3 separate regions of the Homo sapiens genome follow, and regions 1 and 3 are each linked to region 2. Evidence: promoter capture Hi-C in human tissues and cell types (Jung and others, 2019). All regions are on one chromosome and are shown on one strand. The core of a region is centred on a gene start or on the middle of the fragment in contact, and the rest is flanking DNA. Distances in the headings are between cores, read along the strand shown. Region 1 overlaps LOC105376017 (a long non-coding RNA gene). Region 2 holds the start of TAF1L (TATA-box binding protein associated factor 1 like). Region 3 has its middle 34 kb from the start of TAF1L.

Region 1 (4,360 bases), core at 1,793-4,292, 54 kb after region 2:
GCACCCAATACAGAAGCACCCAGATTCATAAAGCAAGTCCTTAGAGACCTACAGAGACTTAGACTCCCACACAATAATAATGGGAGACTTTAACATCCCACTAACAATATTAGACAGATCAACGAGACAGAAGGTTAACAAGGATATCCAGGACTTGAACTCAGCTCTGCAACAAGCAGACCTAATAGACATCTAAAGAACTCTCCACCCTGAATCAATAGAATATACATTCTTCTCAACACCACATTGCACTTATTCCAAAATTGACCACATAGTTGGAAGTAAAGCACTCCTCAGCAAACGTAAAAGAACAGAAATTATAACAAACTGTCTCTCAGACCACAGTGCAATCAAACAAGAACTCAGGATTAAGAAACTCACTCAATACCAGTCAACTACATGGAAACTGAACAACCTGCTCCTGAATGACTACTGGGTACATAACAAAATGAAGCCAGAAATAAAGATGTTCTTTGAAACCAACGAGAACAAAGACACAACATACCAGAATCTCTGGGACACATTCAAAGCAGTGTGTAGAGGGAAATTTATAGCACTAAATGCCCACAAGAGAAAGCAGGAAAGATCTAAAATCAACACCCTAACATCACAATTCAAAGAACTAGAGAAGCAAGAGCAAACAAATTCAAAAGCTAGCAGAAGGCAAGAAATAACTAAGATCAGAGCAGAACTGAAGGAAATAGAGACACAAAAACCCCTTCAAAAAATCAATGAATCCAGGAGCTGGTTTTTTGAAAAGATCAACAAAATTGATAGACCGCTAGCAAGACTAATAAAGAAGAAAAGAGAGAAGAATCAAATAGACGCAATAAAAAATGACAAAGGGGATATCACCACTGATCCCACAGAAATACAAACTACCATCAGAGAATACTATAAACACCTCTACGCAAATAAACTAGAAAATCTAGAAGAAATGGATAAATTCCTGGACATGTACACTCTCCCAAGACTAAACCAGGAAGAAGTTGAATCTCTGAATAGACCAATAACAGGCTCAGAAATTGAGGCAATAATTAACAGCTTACCAACCAAAAAAAGTCCAGGACCAGATGGATTCACAGCTGAATTCTACCAGAGGTACAAGGAGGAGCTGGTATCATTCCTTCTGAAACTATTCCAATCAATAAAAAAAGAGGGAATCCTCCTGAACTTATTTTATGAGGACAGCATCATCCTGAAACCAAAGCCTGGCAGAGACACAACAAAAAAAGAGAATTTTAGACCAATATCCTTGATGAACATTGATGCAAAAATCCTCATTAAAATACTGGCAAACCGAATCCAGCAACACATCAAAAAGCTTATCCACCATGATCAAGTGGGCTTCATCCCTGGGATGCAAGGCTGGTTCAACATACGAAAATCAATAAATGTAATCCAGCATATAAACAGAACCAAAGACAAAAACCACATGATTATCTCAATAGATGCAGAAAAGGCCTTTGACAAAATTCAACAACCCTTCATGTTAAAAACTCTCAATAAATTAGGTATTCATGGGACATATCTCAAAATAATAAGAGCTATCTATGACAAACCCACAGCCAATATCATACTGAATGGGCAAAAACTGAAAGCATTCCCTTTGAAAACTGGCACAAGACAGGGATGCCCTCTCTCACCACTCGTATTCAACATAGTGTTGGAAGTTCTGGCCTGGGCAATCAGGCAGGAGAAGGAAATAAAGGGCATCCAATTAGGAAAAGAGGAAGTCAAATTATCCCTGTTTGCAGATGACATGACTGTATATCTAGAAAACCCGATCATCTCAGCCCAAAATCTCCTTAAGCTGATAAGCAACTTCAGCAAAGTCTCAGGATACAAAATCAATGTACAAAAATCACAAGCATTCTTATACACCAATAACGGACAAACAGAGAGCCTAATCATGAGTGAACTCCCATTCACAATTGCTTCAAAGAGAATAAAATACCTAGGAATCCAACTTACAAGGGATGTGAAGGACCTCTTCAAGGAGAACTACAAACCACTGCTCAATGAAATAAAAGAGGATTACAAACAAATGGAAGAACATTCCATGCTCATGGGTAGGAAGAATCAATATCGTGAAAATGGCCATACTGCCCAAGGTAATTTATAGATTCAATGCCATCCCCATCAAGCTACCAATGACTTTCTTCACAGAATTGGAAAAAACTATTTTAAAGTTCATATGGAACCAAAAAAGAGCCCACATTGCCAAGTCAGTCCTAAGCCAAAAGAACAAAGCTGGAGGCATCAGGCTACCTGACTTCAGGCTACAGTAACCAAAACAGCATGCTACTGGTATCTAAACAGAGATATAGACCAATGGAACAGAACAGAGCCCTCAGAAATAATTCCACATATCTACAACTATCTGATCTTTGACAAACCTGACAAAAACAAGAAACGGGGAAAGGATTCTCGATTTAATAAATGGTGCTGGGAAAACTGGCTAGCCATATGTAGAAAGCTGAAACTGGATCCCTTCCTTACACCTTATACAAAAATTAATTCAAGATGGATTAAAGACTTAAATATTAGACCTAAAACCATAAAAAGCCTAGAAGAAAACTTAGGCAATACCATTCAGGATATAGGCATGGGCAAGGACTTCATGTCTAAAACACCAAAAGCAATGGCATCAAAAGCCAAAATTGACAAATGGGATCTAATTAAACTAAAGAGCTTCTGCACAGCAAAAGAAACTACCATCAGCGTGAACAGGCAACCTACAGAATGGGAGAAAATTTTTGCAACCAATTCATCTGACAAAGGACTATTATCCAGAATCTACAATGAACTCAAAACAAATTTACAAGAAAAAAACAAACAACCCCATCAAAAAGTGGGTGAAGGATATGAACAGACACTTCTCAAAAGAAGACATTTATGCAGCCAAAAAACACAGAAAAAATGCTCATCATCACTGGCCATCAGAGAAATGCAAATCAAAACCACAATGAGATATCATCTCACACCAGTTAGAATGGCGATCATTAAAAAGTCAGGAAACAACAGGTGCTGGAGAGGATGTGGAGAAATAGGAACACTTTTACACTGTTGGTGGGACTGTAAACTAGTTCAACCATTGTGGAAGTCAGTGTGGCGATCCCTCAGGTATCTAGAACTAGAAATACCATTTGACCCAGCCATCCCATTACTGGGTATATACCCAAAGGATTATAAATCATGCTGCTATAAAGACACATACACACGTATGTTTATTGCGGCACTATTCACAATAGCAAAGACTTGGAACCAACCCAGATGTCCAACAATGATAGACTGGATTAAGAAAATGTGGCACATATACACCATGGAATACTATGCAGCCATAAAAAAGGATGAGTTTATATCCTTTGTAGGGACATGGATGAAGCTGGAAACCATCATTCTCAGCAAACTATCGCAAGGACAAAAAACCAAACACCACATGTTCTCACTCATAGGTGGGAATTGAACAATGAGAACACATGGACACAGGAAGGGGAACATCACACACCGGGGACTGTTGTGGAGTGGGGGGAGTGGGGAGGGATAGCATTAGGAGATATACCTAATGCTAAATGACGAGTTAATGGGTGCAGCACACCAACATGGCACATGTGTACATATGTAACAAACCTGCATGTGGTGCACATGTACCCTAAAACTTAAAGTATAAAAAAAAAATTGTGTCCCATGCTGTAAAACCATGTTCATTTTCTTAATGTGCCATATCCAAAGCAATGTATTCTTGCTCGGGTAGACTGAGATGTTATTTAGAGTAAAAGGTTGGCAGTGGCATAAGGGCAGGATGGAGAAGAGAGAAAGGCTCTGTACTTATCACCTCCTCTCTTCCTACTAAGATACGCAGTTCTCCTTGTAGTAGCTGCAGCCTCTATGTTTCGATACTACTAGTAATGGGATAACTAGGCCTTTTCTCTTCCCAATGTCAACAGTCCCATTCACTTCCAATCTGGTAAATTGGAAACAAATTAATGACTCCTAGTTTCATTTATCATACTTCAGTGACTCTTTCTTAACCTTTAAAAGGCTTATTTCTCGTTATAATTATCATTATTGGCTGGGCACAGTGGTTTATGCCTGTAATCCCGCACTTTGGGATGCCAAGGTGGGCAGATCACTTGAGGTTAGGAGTTCGAGACCAGCCTGGCCAACATAGTGAAACTTCATCTCTACTAAAATACAAAAATTAGCCGAGCATGGTGGTGGGTGCCTGTAATCCCAGCTACTCGGGAGTCTGAAGCAGGAGAATTGCTTGAACCTGGGAGGTGGAGGTTGCAGTGAGTGGAGATAGTGCCACTGCACTCCAACCTAGGCAACAGAGCAAGACTCCATCTCAATATAT
Region 2 (3,822 bases), core at 918-3,417:
TTGCCTGTGAGATCCTGAGGTGTGCGCATAAAAAACAACTCTCCACCACCTGAGGCTTGCCTCTCTTGTTCTCTCATCTTGGCCTTTTTTTTGATGTGCTTTAGCAAAGGTTGGACTGAATGGGGACCTGGCTGAGAGAGTGCACCAAATGAGTACTTTTTCAGAGGTGGGCGATGGAACTGCCGGATTTTGATGGGCCCCATGTGGGTGGGAAAGAAGGGCTGCCATAATTCCATAGCAGGAATTGAATGCTGGATAATATTCCCTCCAAAGGTGCCCCGAAGACCCTGTTGCTTGGGGAAATAATACTCATCATTGGAGAGATTCCATGGATCTTTCACTTCTGGCTGAGACATGTTCTGCTGTGGTTCCTCCCTGATGACACCTGTTTTGCCCAAGAGAATTCGACTCTTCTTCAGAGATGATTCCTTCTTACTCTCCTTGGAGGGGGAGTTAGAGGTGGCCTCTTCCTTCTCATCAGGAATTTCCAAAATGAGGTTCTCATCATTGGGATCAAGTGCCAAAACAGGAGGTTCCAACAGCCGGGGCATGGCCTGAGCATCCCAAATGATATTGTCCTCCCAGCGTCCATACACCAGATCCTCATTGTCAATGGGAAAAATGGAGTACCAAGGTTTGTCATCATCCAGAGTGGGTGCAAAACCTTGCTGAACATTGTAAGCCATTACATTCCTAGTCTTAATAGAAGGAAGCCAGCCTGCCAGGCTTGCACCCTGAGGTTTTGTCCCTTTGTGTTTGATATCCTCCCCATCCCAGATGATAGAATCCTCCCAATGCAGCTGTGTCACCATCAGGAAGTTTTCGTCAGCCAGAAGATCAGTGCCATTGCTTTCCTCAAGTTTCCTAAATTCCTCCATCATTCTAGATTTTATCACAGGTTCATGTTGTGTCTTTCTCAGTTTGAAGCCATAGTCAAACCCACTGCCATCTTCGGAGACACCCAGCATATCATACCACAGTCGGGCAGGCCCATAACGCCACTCAGCCACTCTTGGTTTGGTATCTGTCACTTTATCTACATCTCCAGTTGATTGGGAAAATTTGGACTCCACAGGAACCATCATCGTGATTTCATCATCAGCGAGACACTGCTCTGGGGGTGGTGGTGGAGCATAGTCATAGTTCCACAAAGACTTCTGGCTGACTTCTGATTCTACTGAGCATTCCACCTCCTGGATCTGCTCTTCCTGTATCAGCTCACGATGCTTCTTCCTCTTTCTCCGAGCACTCCGCCAAACAGATGGGACATTCTTCCCTGGTCCAAAAAGATGTAGGAAGCGTAACACTTTTCCAGGTCGAAATTCTGGAAAAAGTTCGGTGACACTTGGCAACAGCTTGGTGGCATCATGCTGCATAATCCCAGCCAATGGAAGGGTCAGCTTTCCATCCTCAGATTCTGCCTGTGTTGCTTCCTGAGGTCCCATCTCAGATTCTGAATCAGAGTAACTACTGAAATCCACTTTCTCTGAGGCCAAAAAGGAAGGGGCAATGATGGAGGGCAAGATGATGTCTTCTCCACTTTCAGACACACAGGTAATAGCATCTTGGTCCTTATCCTTCTTCATTGGTCCCGGGGGTGGAGGTGGAGGAGGCATCAACTTGCAATCAATGTCTTCACAATCAGCATCATAGTCATCTTCATCATAATCCGAGTGGTAAAGGGGCTGCAAGCTCCCCATCGTCTGCTGGTGTCTTTGGCTTTCATCTTCTGCCACCTCATTGATGTCTGAATAGTCTACAGCATCTTCTGTACTCCTAATCCACCCTTCATCATTTACCAAGGCACCGCCAGTCCCAGTCAATTCTTCATTTGCCGTGAGTTCAGTGATTAGGCTGCCCAGCCCCAAAGCCCCCAAGCCTGCCAAGTGCTTCTTACACTCATCATCCAAGACGCTTTCCCCCTCCAGCTGCCCCGCTCCACTGATGTTGCCGAAAAGGATACCCGCTAAAGTAAATGGGCCACCTCCAGATGAATCTTCCTCGCTGTCCGAGTCTGACATGATGGCGGCAGTGACGGTAGCTGCTGCCCTCAGCAGCAAATCGCAGCCGGGTCGCATAAACCGGAAATAAAACAACAGTCGCCCGGAAGTGATCTACTTAGCTCCCTTACCCTACCAGCGTCTACCGGAAGCTGAATAAAGGCGGGGGGAGGGGGCAAAGGGGCGGGGGGAAAAACCCGCAAAACTTTTTTTTTTTTTTTTTTTTGAGACGGAGTCTCGCAACGTCGCCCAGGCTGGAGTGCAGTGGCGCGATCTTGGCTCACTGCAAGCTCTGCCTTCTGGGTTCACGCCATTCTCCTGCCTCAGCCTCCTGAGTAGCTGGGACTACAGGCGCTCGCCACCACGCCTGGCTAATTTTTTTTTTTTTGTATTTTCAGTAGAGACGGGGTTTCACCATGTTAGCCTCTCGATCTCCTGACCTCGTGAACCGCCTGCCTCGGCCTCCCAAAGTGCTGGGATTACAGGCGTAAGCCACCGCGCCCAGCCTGTTTGCTGGTTTTTGAGACAAAGTCTTGCTCTGTCGCCCCAGGCTGGCGTGCAGTGGCACAATCTCGGCTCACTGAAACCTCCACCTCAGGAGTTCAAGAGATTCCTGCCTCAGCCTCCACAGTAGCTGGGATTACAGGCATGAGCCACCATGCCTGGCTAATTTTTTGTATTTTTAGTGGAGACAAGATTTCACCATATTGGCCAGGCTAGTCTTAAACTCCTGACCTCAGATGGTCAGCCCGTCTCTGTCTCCGAAAGTGCTGGGATTACAGGCGTGAGCCACTGCACCCAGCCTCTGTAAATCTCTTTATACATGAACTGCATATGTATGCTTCTCCAAATAATCTATAGCATTGTCATGCTTTACAATTTTGTATAAAAGGCATCTTACTGTGTGTACTCGTTTTTTTTTTCCCCCTTCCTTTTTTTTAAGAGATGGGATCTCACTATGTTAGCCAAGCTGGTCTTAAACTCCTCCTGGCCTCAAGCAATCCTCCCACTTTGGCCTCCCAAAGTGCTGAGATTACAGGCAAGAGCCACCAAACCCGACCTTACTGTATGTACTCTTAGCCAGAATGTTTTCTGGATAAAATTTATGTTTATGATATTCAACTATGTTGATGCATTCAATTCTATTTTTATAGCTCTATAGTGTTCTACAGTATGGTTATGCTACAATTTATCTATGTTCCTATGTTTGTTCATTTAAATTGTTCCCAAATTGTTCCTCTTATAAATAATGTATATGATTCCTTGAGCATATGTAGGACACATTCTCCAGGGTATACATCTAGGAGTGGAATTACTAGATTTTACAATATATGCTTTTTCAACTACACTTGCTATTACTAAATTGTTCTCCAAAGTAGTTGTACCATTTTACATACCTAACAGCAGTGTATAAAAGTTCTCACCTCTCCACATCCATTCTAACACTTAGCATTGTCATTTGTTAATTTTTGTTCATTTCTAATAAATGTATAATGATAATGTGGTTTTAATTTGTATTTTTCTGATTGCTACTGAAGGCTAACTTTTCATACACTTATTGACCAACTGTTTTTCCTCTTCTGTCAATTGCCTTTTCATATATTTTTATCTAATTTTTATAGTATCTTTAGGTTATCTGTCTTTTCTTTAATGTATAACAGTTCTTCATATATTATGGATTTGCTTGCAAATAACTTCCCCAGTCTGTGACATGTCTTTTAATCTATTTTAATGGTGTCTTTAATATATATTTTAAAATTTCAATCTTATCAAATTTTTCCTTTATGCTTTTTTTTTTTTTTTGAGACAGTCTTGCTCTGTT
Region 3 (4,366 bases), core at 894-3,393, 34 kb after region 2:
GAACAGTACTTCTCAAATTTTAATATAAGAATCACCTGAGGATCTTTTGAACTAAAAATAGATCTACCATTCAATCCAGCAAGCCCACTACTGGGTATCTACCCAAAGAGAAAGAAGTTATTATATGAAAAAGACACACACATGTATGTTTATAGCAGCACAATTCACAATTGCAAAGATATGGAAAAAACTAAGTGTCCATCGACCAATGAATGGATTAAGAAAATGTGGTATATATACACCATGGAATACTGTTTGGCCATAAAAAGGAACAAAATAATGTTTTATTTGTAGCAACTTGGATGGAGTTAGAGGCCATTATTCTAAGTGAAGTAACTCAGAAATGGAAAACCAAAAACCATGTGTTCTCACTTATAAGTGGGAGCTAAGCTATGAGTTTGCAAATGCATACAGAGTGATATAATGGACTTTGGAGACTCAGAAGGGGGAGGGAGGTGAGGGATAAAAAACTGCATATTGGGTACAATGTACAATACTCGGATAATAAGTGCACTAGAATCTCAGAATTCACTGCTATATAATTCATCCATGCAACCCCAAACCCCAAAAGCCATTGAAATTTTATATATACATATATATATACACATGTATAAATTCTAATCCAATAGGCCTGGGGTGGGCCTGAGAACCTGCGTTTCTAACAAGCTCCCAGGTGATGCTGATGCTGCTGGCCCACAGCACATTCTAGCAAGTGGATAGAACAGTGGTTCTCAAAGTATGGTGCCAGTACCATCAGCATCACCTGGGAACCCAGAAGAAATACAGATTTTCAGGGCCCATTCCAGATCTACTGAAATAGAAACTCGGGTTGGAGATCCGGCAATCTGTCTTTTCAAGTCTTCTGCATGGTTCTCCTGCACCTTAGAAAGTCGTGATAGTGCTGAAAAACCACTGGGGTGAAAAACCACTTTGGGCTAGAGCATCAAAAGGTTGGGTAATGGTATTGAAAGATACTAGAAATGTACATGGGGTATAAAGAATGTGGCATACAAAGAGTTAGAACAGGGGTATCCAATCTTTCGGTTTCCCTTGGCTATACTGGAAGAAGAAGAATTATCTTGGGCCACACATAAAACACACTAACACTAATGATAGCTGATGAGCCAAAAAAAAAAATTGCAGAAAAATCTCATAATGTTTTAAGAAAGTTTACAAATTTGTGTTGGGCCACATTCAAAGCCATCCTGGGCTGCATGCTGCCCACGGCCCACGGGTTGGACAAGCTTGAAGTTAGAATTTTATCCTATAGGCAACAGGAAATTCCTAGATAGTCTTAAGAAGAAGAGTAATTGAATTCGAAGTTATTTTAAGATCTTTCTGGCAGAAGTGTCCCTTTGAGGCACCTCCCAACTATGGTACGAAGTGTCCTAGTTGCTTTGGTTTCACTGACGGGCCTTTCCACCCATCTTCCCAAGGCCTCTGCCCCCCTACAGAAAGCTTCGGGTCCTATGACAGCTCTGGGTCCTGCCCAATGTTTGCTGGGCTGATTTCCCTGGTTTCTGACCTGGTGCCTGTCCATTGATTCTTCCTCTTTCCTGGGTCCCTTTTGGGGGTGGCTGCCTTTGGGCTGTCAGTGCCCTTTGACTTGACTTCTCCTGGGGCCATTGCCTCTTGGGTCTTCCTAACTTGGCTTTAAGTGCTGCATTCCACCATCGCCCTCATTCCCGTGCCACATCCGACTCCCACTCCAAGCAGAGCGTAGTGCCATGGGCCTTGGCTTGTCTGGGAGGAGGTGCTAGACAAACAGTTGAGAGAGACTGCATATCTGGCTGGCAGTGACTTGCTAGGTGACCAAGGCCAAGCAACTTACCTCTCTGGGCTTCAGTTGTCTCATTCATATAACCCAGTCTCCGGGATTGGATTTAAACATCATTCAAGAGACCCAATATAAAGCTCTACAATTCCATAGAAAACATTTGCTTTGTAGGATTACTTTATTGAAAAATATGTCCAATTACAAGTCTTTTTTCTTGGATATGGAAGAAGCTTACTTTTTCAAAATATAGAATCTGTTTTTACAAGCTCAACATCAAGGTGTAGAAGGATAATAAATTAGAAATAGTAACCAATGTTTTGCCCCCAGATATCTCCCCTATGCCCTTTGCTTCTGTTCAAGTAAGTAGACAATTCTGAGTTTATGGCCTTGGGAAGAGTTATGACACATTTGAAAGCAGAAAAAAACGGTGTCTATCTCATGCCAGTCAGAATGGCAATTATTAAAAAGTCAGGAAACAATAGATGCTGGTGAGGTTGCAGACAAATAGGAACACTTTTACACTGTTGGTGGGATTATAAATTAGTTCAACCATTGTGGAAGACAGTGTGGTGATTCCTCAGGTTTCTAGAACCAGAAATACCATTTGACCCAGCAATCCCATTACTGGGTATATACCCAAAGGAATAGAAATAATTCTACTGTAAAGACACATGCACATGTATGTTTATTGCAGCACTATTTACAATAGCAAAGACATGGAACCAACCCAAATGCCCATCAATGATAGACTGGATAAAGAAAATGTACATACACACCATGGAATACTATGCAGACATAAAAGAGAATGAGTTCATGTCCTTTGCAGGGACATGGATGAAGCTGGAAGCCATCATCCTCAGCAAACTAACACAGGAACAGAAAACCAAACACTGCATGTTCTCACTCATAAGTGGGATTTAAACAATGAGAACACATGGATGCAAGTTAAGCAATGAGAACACATGGATGCACACACCAGGGCTTGTTGGGGGTGGCGGACAAGGAGAGGGAGAGCATTAGGACAAATACCTAATGCATGTGGGGCTTAAAACCTAGATGATGGGTCGATAGGTGCAGGAACCACCATGGCACATGTATAACTATATAGCAAACCTGCACACATTCTGTATCCCAGAACTTAAAGTAACATTTTTAAAAAGAGGGGTGTCACCCCTGCTTTGGCTTCTAGAATTCTAAGCCTTTAGGACAGAGGCTGCAAAGTGGTAGCGCTTAGGGCAAAACTGAGTCACAGATGTGTTTTGTTGGCCCTGCGGTGATACTTTTCCAAAATGAATTGATTTTCAACATTTGAAATCAGAAAGGTTTGCACCAACCGAAACTTTCCACCTTCTTCTTGAAAAAATAAATGGTGGACCTGAACAAGAAGAGCCCTGTACCCCCTTTCCTGGGCCAAAGGGGCCTGGGAAGACAGCAAGACTGTGAAGCTTTAGCTTATGCAGAGCCCCATGCAGCTCCAGAGACTCATCGTAAAGATAGTGGGAGATCTGCTGAGCTCAGGACCAGCAGATGGACAGCTCAGGGGTGACATGTGTGGTCCATGGCTAAGGATGTCTTCCGACAGGCCTGATGTTTGTGGGAAGTGTGCTGAGGCCAGGACCAGCAGATGGAAAGCTCAGTGTGACACGTATGGTCCACAGCTAAGGACCCAATGGCATGAAGGTTGGATCTCAGCAGATGCCTTGGTGGACCAAAGGCATAGAAGATGGGATGTTTCCTATTACATCTGGTGCCCCAGCTCAGAACTGAGACACAATCCCCTGGGATGGAGAGAGTAATAGAAAATCCCTAACATCAAGATTAAGTCTCTGCCATATAAATAGAATGGGGGCTCAAAACAGAAATCAGTGTGAATTTTAGAAAAGAAAAAGAAACATATTTTCTGCATGCCTCAGTTTGGAACTTAAATATGTACCCGTTATAAAAGAAAGTAGGATTTTCCTTATGTACTTGTTTTCTATGTGCACACATCCTTTTAAAAATGACATCAGGTATGGGTGAGAAGGGTAGCAGGAGAAATGAGAATTGTGGTTGAATCTTTTCCTCCAGAATGAGACAACTGATTCATTCTAAAGAGCTTAGAGATGGATTTGATCTTTACACCAGTGGATCTTGACATGTTTGGGTCATGTACTCCTTTAAGGAGCTGATAAAAGAAACCTTCTGTTATGAAAAACATACATGGACACAAAATTTATACAATTCTATACAAATTCCAAGGGCTTCAGAACTCAAGCCTCTTTGGAAGCCCATCCACAGACCCCAGGATAAGAAATTTGCCTCTGCCTGCTACTCTTCCTGTCCCCATTTTCTTCCAGGGATTACAGTGAAAGGAGAGAAAATCCTCAGCCTATTTGGAATACAAAGAAAACTGCCACCCACAGTCTGTCACCCTGGCACCCTCACCATCTGCAGCCTTTCAAAGCTCTTGCCTGTTCCCACCTCCTTCCAGAGCTGTGTTGCTGAGGCCTCTTCCACAGGCCAGATGTTTGCTGAGCTCTGCCCAGAGCACCCTCTTTGGGACTGCCTCATACTGATGCACATTAAAAATAAAAGGGATGGGGCTCTGCA

The links. The method cuts DNA at HindIII sites, captures the fragments that hold promoters and counts their contacts. A contact is called where the count stands out against the background at its distance.
Region 1: a contact is called between a fragment that was not itself captured here and the fragment with the promoter of TAF1L in region 2, in 3 of the 25 tissues and cell types used here (adrenal gland, dorsolateral prefrontal cortex and mesendoderm cells).
Region 3: a fragment that was not itself captured here is called in contact with the fragment with the promoter of TAF1L in region 2 in 10 of the 25 tissues and cell types used here (H1 embryonic stem cells, IMR-90 fibroblasts, adrenal gland and 7 more).

What each region holds. Positions count from the first base shown.
Region 1 is chr9:32,686,584-32,690,943 of GRCh38, forward strand. The region is part of intron 5 of LOC105376017 (a long non-coding RNA gene); the gene reads right to left. Among named protein-coding and RNA genes, the nearest start is that of TAF1L, 53 kb to the left of the region's middle. The HindIII fragment of the contact is 5,325 bases long and covers 381-4,360 here.
Region 2 is chr9:32,633,502-32,637,323 of GRCh38, forward strand. It overlaps TAF1L (TATA-box binding protein associated factor 1 like), which reads right to left and starts at 2,168. Exons shown (of 1, transcript NM_153809.2): 1 at 1-2,168. The coding sequence starts at 2,078. The HindIII fragment of the contact is 9,470 bases long and covers 1-3,822 here.
Region 3 is chr9:32,667,321-32,671,686 of GRCh38, forward strand. No RefSeq gene overlaps it. Among named protein-coding and RNA genes, the nearest start is that of TAF1L, 34 kb to the left of the region's middle. The HindIII fragment of the contact is 3,952 bases long and covers 168-4,119 here.